Regions from separate parts of the Homo sapiens genome. Here region 2 is linked to region 1. Evidence: promoter capture Hi-C in 16 types of primary human blood cells and fetal thymus (Javierre and others, 2016). All regions are on one chromosome and are shown on one strand. Each heading gives the region's core, a stretch centred on a gene start or on the middle of the fragment in contact. The rest is flanking DNA. Distances are from core to core; before and after follow the strand shown. Region 1 holds the start of ZFP41 (ZFP41 zinc finger protein). Region 2 has its middle 32 kb from the start of LY6L.

What was found. Contacts are between HindIII fragments. The CHiCAGO score rates a contact against its expected background, and 5 or more counts as called.
Region 2: a contact is called between a fragment that was not itself captured here and the fragment with the promoter of ZFP41 in region 1, in 2 of 17 cell types (endothelial precursors and non-activated CD4 T cells). The highest score is 5.8, in endothelial precursors.

The regions. Positions count from the first base shown.
Region 1 is chr8:143,244,439-143,248,299 of GRCh38, reverse strand. ZFP41 (ZFP41 zinc finger protein) reads right to left here and starts at 1,361. Exons shown (of 3, transcript NM_173832.6): 1 at 1,158-1,361. RefSeq lists silencers at 927-976, 1,017-1,906, 2,107-2,266. The HindIII fragment of the contact is 20,601 bases long and covers 1-3,861 here.
Region 2 is chr8:143,110,491-143,114,357 of GRCh38, reverse strand. No RefSeq gene overlaps it. Among named protein-coding and RNA genes, the nearest start is that of LY6L, 32 kb to the right of the region's middle. The HindIII fragment of the contact is 6,125 bases long and covers 1-3,867 here.

The sequences.
Region 1 (3,861 bases), core at 112-2,611:
GGATCGTATCTTTTTTATCTCCAAATCCTAGTCACATACTGTGGTCAGGGAACATTCTCCATAACGGCTCTGTCGACTCAACTTAGGCTGGCAGGTGCTAACCGGCAGAGACTGGAATGACTCACTTCTCTACACGCTGCCCACCCTGAGAAATAAAATATTTCTTAAAAGCAGAGTGGACTGGCCGGGCGCGGTGGCTCATGCCTGTAATCCCAGCACTTTGGGAGGCCGAGGTGGGCGGATCACGAGGTCAGGAGATCGAGACCATCCTGGCCAACATGGTGAAACCCTGTCCCTACCAAAACACAAAAAATTAGCTGGGCGTGGTGGCACGTGCCTGTAGTCCTAGCTACTCAGGAGGCTGAGGGAGGGGAATTGCCTGAACCCAGGAGATAGAAGTTGCAGTGAGCAAAGGTCGCGCCAGTGCACTCCTGCCTGGCGACAGAACAAGACTCCGTCTCAAACAAAAAAACCAAACCAAACCAAAACAAAAAACCCCACACGCAAAAAACAAAAACGGATTGGACCATAGCGATTTTCTTGGCCTCACCTCACAGGCCTGTAGACAGGAGTGATTAGCTAGTTACAAACAGCGCAACCCACGCTTGCCACACCCCTAAAGACTGGGGTTCTGGTTCTGTCGTGCAACTCCAGCGTAGCTCCGTCGCCTCTCTGGGCGGAGGACCCTTCACTTGTAATATGAAGCTCTGGGTATCCGTGGGCGGTAAGGGCTGCCTAGAAAACCTCACTCACCCTGGCGCCTCCCTCCACTACTTTCAGGGATCTGGGTCTCATGGAGAGACTGGAACATTAGTGGGCTTGAGATTCAGGGGCAATCTGCACTAAAACAGCCTGCTGGGTCCACGGCCTGCCAGGGGCCTGCTAGCTGTGCCAAGGCCTGAGATGCCAGGCATCTGAGCCAGGCGGAGGGGCCCGCCAGGGTCCCGTGCGTGCTCCTAGTTAGAGGCTCTCCTTTCAACGGCAGAGCCCCGCGGCCCACGTGCAGAGCTAGGTCGGCCTCGGGGCCGGCGCCCGGGAGGTGCTCAAAGCCGGGTCTTGCCACATCCCTGGAGCGCCGGGGTGCGGGGAGGCGGCGGGGCCCATACCGACGCTGCGCGTCCTGGGCCGGAGGCGGCAGGCAGGAGCCCAGTGAGTACCTGGCTGGAGACGAGAGGCGACGAGGACCTCCCGCTGCAGAGCGCGGACGCGCCCGGGCCCTACCAGGACTGCTGGAGGGCGGGGAGAGGCGCGCGCCCCTCGCGGGGGCCGGAGGCAGGAAAGGAGAGCCCTAGATGCGGGACCCCCCAACAGCTCCCCACCAGTGCCAGCGTCCCCGTCGGCCCTAGGCACCGGCAGGAAATGCCCGCCCGCTGACCCGCCCCTTCCGGCGGCCGCGCTAGGAGCCTGGGCCGGACTCGGTGATGGTGGGCGGTGGAGGGCTCGGCCCGAGCGGCTCCATCCCCAGCCGACTCCGCCCCCGAAGACCCCGCCCCGATCAGGCCCCGCCCCCTCAGGCTTCACCCATAACTGCCGCCACGCCCGCAGGGTCCTCCCCGAGCTGACCCCGCCCCTTTACAGTCGTCTATGGCAGGCGCCCTCCCGAAGGCTCCCCCGAAATCAGGTCCCTCCCCGAGCGGGCCCCGCCTCCGAAAGCTCCTTCCCGAGCCGGCTTCCCCTCATGCCCCGCCCCCTCAGGCTCCGCCCTCGTGTCCCGCCCCCGAAAGTTCCTCCCCAGCCACCTCCCCACATGCTCCGCCCCCAGGCTCCGCCCCATGTCCCGCCCCCAAAAAGCCCCGCCCCGAACCGGCACCCTCATGCCCCGCCCCCAGCGGCCCCGCCCCGCAAGGCCCAGTCCCCAGCAGCTCGGTCCCGAGCCGACCCTGTCACGTAGGCTGCGCCCACCAGACTCTCCGGATCCGACGCGCGTGGGCTCCTGGCTCCAGACCCCCAACGGGGAGGTCGCGGCCGCGTGCTGGGAGACTTGTCCCTGAGGACGCTCCCCGCCAACCCCCAGCCCCCGCCGACCCCCAGCTCCCGCCTCCGCCGACCCCCAGCCCCCGCCTCCGCGGCGCCCACGGCTTGCCTCCACGGGAAGTCGCTGTCTCCGCCTTCAGCGCGGAAGGAGAACCGACGCCTCTCCAGGCCGCGGGCCCCTAGCTAGGCGGGCAACGCCTCCACCGCCGCCGCCACCGCGTGCGCGCCCTGGCGAGCCGTCCCCCACCACGTGGCCCCTGCCGCTCCTCCCGCCGCAGGCAGCCCCTCCGGGATGTGCTCCCAGCCGCTGGCTGTGCTCACTCCACTTCCTGCCTGCCCAGATCGCACTGAGCCGCCAGGCCCGCCAGAGCCCCGCGTGTTAGTTCCCTACGTACCGCAAATTGGGTGTCCTAAAACGACATCCGCCTATTATCTCAAGGCTTCTGTGGGCCAGAAGGCCAGGCTTAGCTGGGTCCTCAGCTCTGGTCAGCCGCTGTGTTCTCATCTGGGGGCTGGACTGGGGAAGGATCACTTCCCACCTCATGCGATTGCTGGCAGAAGTCATGTCCTGGTGCCTGTAGGACTGAGGGCCGGCAGGAGCTGCTCTCAGCTCCCGGGGGCTGCCTGCCAGTCCCTACTGTGGGAGGGTGGGCGGTTCACAGGGTGGCCGCTTCCCCAGGGTCCGTGGGAGAGCCCCACCCCCAGATGGAGTCCTGTGGAACAGAACCTAATTGTGGGTGACATGCCACCCCCTCGGCCCAGTTCTACTCAGATTCAAGTCACAAGTGCCGCCTGTAGCCAAGGGAAGGATGGGCATTGGGCTGGCTCTGGCACATCTCCTTAGGATATCTGCAGCATTCTGCCCCCCCAACACTTCCCATTTCCACTTTCTATATGATTTCCTTATTATATTTATTATTAATTATCCCCCGCTCCCACACTCCCATGCAAATCAGCTCTTGGAGGGCAGCCACCTGTTCTTGTTCTGGGTGCCTGATGTGTGCTGGGCCCTCGTGTCGTGTGGACTGAGTGAGCATGAGTGGAGATCTTAGGTGCTGCTGGTGTCGTGGCACCCTAGGAACTGCCTGCCCCCACCCAGCCCTCTCTCCAACTGCCTCCTGGACTTAGCAAGGTGTTGAAAACCAGGCAGTTCTGCTCCCTCCTCGTCCCACCCCCCTCTCCCATCCTGTTGCTTTTACCTCCCAATGTTTTAAACCACCCACTCTTGTCCAGCCTGCTTCCTCTGTCCCGGCTGCAACCCCATCTCCTCTCACCAGCATTACTTCTGTGCCCTGCCCTGGGGTCTCCCTGCCTTCATTTGGGCTCCCCTGTCCACCCCTCCTACAGCAGCTGGAGGGACTGACTTACCGGGCAAACCCACAGTGGCCCTCCCAGCTTCACGCCTGTCCTGCAGGATGAGGTCTGGGCCCCCTTAGCAGCTGCAAAGGGGCCTGCACAGACTTGCAGGCCGCCCCTCTCACCACCCTTTCCCCTTCCAGGAGACTCAGCAGCAAGTGCTTGCCCTGCCACACAGCATCGGCTGCATGCCTCAACCCTGGGCCTTGAACACCCCCGCTCCGCCTCCGCCTGACAGACCCTTTCCTGCTTTTTAAGACTCCACCTGTTCGAGCTCCTCTGTGCCAGCCCCGGCCTCGCCCCTGCCAGCCTTAGGCCAAGGCTGCGTGGGTAGCTGTCCATACAGGTTACATGCTGCACATGACCCTCGGTCAGGGCTTGTCTTTTTCATCTTTGTATTATCGGGGGCCAACACATAGCCCATAGCAGGTGCCTAATCCATATTTATTGAGCAATTGATGACTGATGGGGCTGGGACAGAGAGAATAAGACTGAGAATAAGAATGGCAGGGTGGGCGCAGTGGCTCATGC
Region 2 (3,867 bases), core at 107-2,606, 130 kb after region 1:
TCTGTGACATGAGCACCGTTTTCGAACAGTTGTTGGCTGAAGATCATTTGATGAATCTGATTTTTCAGAAATAGATGATTCTGATGCTTCAGATGACTCTGATGTTCTGTTTAGAAATAACTCCAACAACAGTTTTTATATTTTATTTTCACATTGAAAAGCAGTCAGATTTGCTTCACCCTCAAAGAGCGTGTTTATGTAAAATTAAATGAGCGCTGGCACCTTCTTTTTTCTCAATGGGAACAGGGTTAGGTAGAAGGCATGGTGAGATCGTGAAGGAGGAGCCACGTCCCGCTCCTATTCTATCTCATATATGTTTACATGGGTCATGCGTATGTGACCGGTCACTACCAGATTGTATGAAAGAACTCTAATGGGCTTAAAGGAAATTTAAACACTTAAATATCTTATCAGGATAATAGAAGCTAGCTCAAATGCCTTTTAGTTCATGTGACTTTGGTAATCTTTGGTAAGTAAAACTAGTTTCAAAATTCTCTTTATAAAATCTAAAAGTCATGCTAAATTAAGACTAGGATTTTCTAGAAATAAGGGGTTACTAAGTTACAGTAATAGTTTATATATGTAATTAAAACTGCTAGATATAGGCAAAACTATTCTACATACAGAGTGTATGAAAAGTAAGATGTGGGTTTTTCTTTTTTCCTTTTCTTTTTTTTTTTTGAGACTGAGTCTCGTTCTCTCCCCCAGGCTGGAGTGCAATGGCACGATCTTGGCTCACTGCAACCTCTGTCTCCCGGGTTCAAGTGATTCTCCTGCCTCAGCCTCCTGAGTAGCTGGGATTACAGTCGCCCGCCACCACACCCGGCTAATTTTTATATTTTAGTAGAGATGGGTTTCACCACGTTGGCCAGGCTGGTCTCAAACTCTTGACCTTGAGTTATGTGCCCGTCTCGCCTCCCAAAGTGCTGGGATTGTAGGCGTGAGCCACTGCGCCCGGCCATAATGTAAGATGTGTTTTTAGCAAAGGTTATAAAAATCATAAAGATATGGTTTCTGCTTAAAGGAAAAGTACTCTTGTCTAGTTTGGAAGCTATTTACAGGTTGTTTTGGAATCAAGGAAAGATGACATGGATGAGAGTAAATGGATAGAAAGAGGAAGAATAAAGGGCTGGGCAACAAGAAGCCCTTGATTCCTTAGCGGCCACACGTCATCCCTGGTCTGGAGCTGCAGCTGTGCCATCCTCAGCTGCTAAAGGGGAAAGCTACTGGTAGAATTAGAGATGGCACAAACCCTTGGGGAGTTGGTTCAGTGGATGCATAAGAAGATGCAGACTAATAAGCAAAAAGCAAAACATTCAATCCCTTGGTTACTGCTATCTGCAGTAGCTAAAATGAAAGTGTAAGAGAGTGCTGGGTTGGGCCTGGACCATGCTCAGTTGTGGGTCTGTCTGAGCTCAGGCCATTAGCCTCAAAACTACCCACAAAGGGGAAATGATGCCAGGGATGAAAGAAAGCACCCTGAGACCTGTGGTTACCAAGATGGTAGTAAGGGCAAAATCAAGTAGCACTGAAGCCAGAGGACGTGATGTGGGGCAATTGCTTCGTTTTGTAGATTCGCTTCCTGAGGAACTTCTACCAAAATAAATTATGAGAATGACTAATTTGGGAACAGTGTTTTTGGTTTTAAATGTGTAACTGAGCAGCTTGGCTTCAAACCATGTTTTAAAACTTTGTTTTTTCTCCTTTCTTCCCAATCTCAAGATATAACTTTGAGTCAAGCTGCATACGGGTTTCCTTTCATCTTGAAACATAGCCTGGGAATGTGCTGTGGCCTCCCCTCCCCTTCTTTTTCTATTCCATGCTGTCACACCTTACACACACTTATTTACCTGGATGCTTGTTAAGCTCACACCATGCTCACTTCTCTGGTGATGTATTTCCTTAGAAGTTTCAGGGGCCGGATCCTGCTATGGACCAGACACTTCCAGCCACGATGGCCCTGGCCCCTTCACCAGATGGAACAATAATTCGAGATGAGCCATGGGACTGGTTCCTGCCACCCGACACCTCCTCATCACCTGCCTCTTCTGCATTCCAAACCCTCTCTTTAAAATCCCCTGCGTTCCCTCCACAAATGGAAGAGTGGAATTGCTTTGTGCTCATCCCTTTGCTGGTACGGATAATAAAGTCTCACTCTCTTTCTATCACACCTCATTATTATTTTGGCTTCTTTCTACAAGTGGTGAGCAGCCTCACCCTTCTGCTGGTCACAAGTGCAGCAGAATGGAAGAGCACGTGTGGGCTGATGTGAGACCCACAGCTCACTGCTGAACAATGGCAGATGAGTGTGTGTGATCCAGACGCACAGATTATTCCTGAGGGAACGGCCAGCCTGGTGGGCTGGATAAAAGGCACTGTAAGAGAAGGGGACCACCCAACTTTCCCCATAAACGCCAAGTGGAGCACCCCCGATGAAGCAGCTGATGTGCTTCGTAAGCAAGCCATGTGGGACTGACTTTATGATGACCGGGATATTCACGGCTGAGTATGCCCAGATCATGGTAAATGCTGTGGTTAAGGGGGCCCATTGGCCTGGGCACCTCATTGGGTCTCAACTTCCCCTCATGGGTCATCCAGATGCTTATAAAAACTTTAGGCTAATTAATAAAATTATTGGGAAAGGCAAAAGGGAGTCCAAGGACTCATCCTAGGAAGGGGAAAATTTTTAAACGATTAGTTTTAAATAGGTAAAAAATGGGCCAGGCCTGGTGGCTCACGCCTGTAATCTCAGCACTTTGAGGGGCAGAGGTGGGCAGACCACCTGAGATCAGGAGTTCGAGACTGGCCTGGCCAACATGGCGAAACCTCATCTCTACTAAAAATACAAAAATTAGCCAGGTGTGGTGGCGCGCACCTGTAATCCCAGCTACTCAGGAGACTGAGGGAGGAGAATTGCAGTGAGTCAAGACTGCCACTGCACTCCAGCCTGGGTGGCAGAGTAAGACTCCATCTCAAAAAAAAGGTAAAAAGTGGATGGGGTGAAACCAAGAGGAAAAAGGAAAGGAGAGAGTCATGGGGTGCATCCTAGCGGGGTGGAATCTGTACATGGTTGTTAAGCAATGGAATGAATAATGGGGGGTTATTCACAAAGGTCTTAATACAACACTATCGAAAGTTGGGTGAACAAAGGGAGCCCCCGCTGGTCCCTCAACAGTAAAGAGCTCCAAAACAGTTTTTGCCAGATTGGAGAAGGCACTCTAACTATAAAAATTGGAAGGCAAAAGTTACACTGAGCAAACTGACCAACAATTGCGGGGGCCAATGTTGAGGTGGGTTAATCAAGATAAGATTGACAGAAGGGCCAGGGTCCCTTGGATCAAGCCCCTGTGGGGCACCCACATCCTTTTTCACAAGAGAGGGTAAAATGGTCTGGAGGTGGGAAAAAGAAGTTCCTGGGAGCAGAACAGAAAGACGTCGAGTTATGAAAGTCGACTTGTGTGATAGAGTTATGAAAGCCGAGATGTTTAAACAGGCTTTATGTAAGGCATTACATATCCTTTACCTAAATGCTTTATGAAAATGGATATTGAAGCTGGTACAGTGGTTCACACCTGTAATCCTAGCACTTTGGGAGGCCGAGGTGGGCGGATCACTTGGGGTTAGGAGTTCAAGACCACCCTGACCAACATGATGAAACCCCATCTATACTAAAAATACAAAAATTAGCCGGGCATGGTGGCATGCACCTGTAGTCCCAGCTATTGGGGAGGCTGAGGCAGGAGAATTGCTTGAACCCAAGAGGCAGAGGCTGCAGTGAGCCGAGATTGTGCCATTGCACTCCAGCCTGGGCAATAGAGACTCAGGAAAAAAAAAAAAAAGGAAAATGGAAAATGGATATTGTACGTG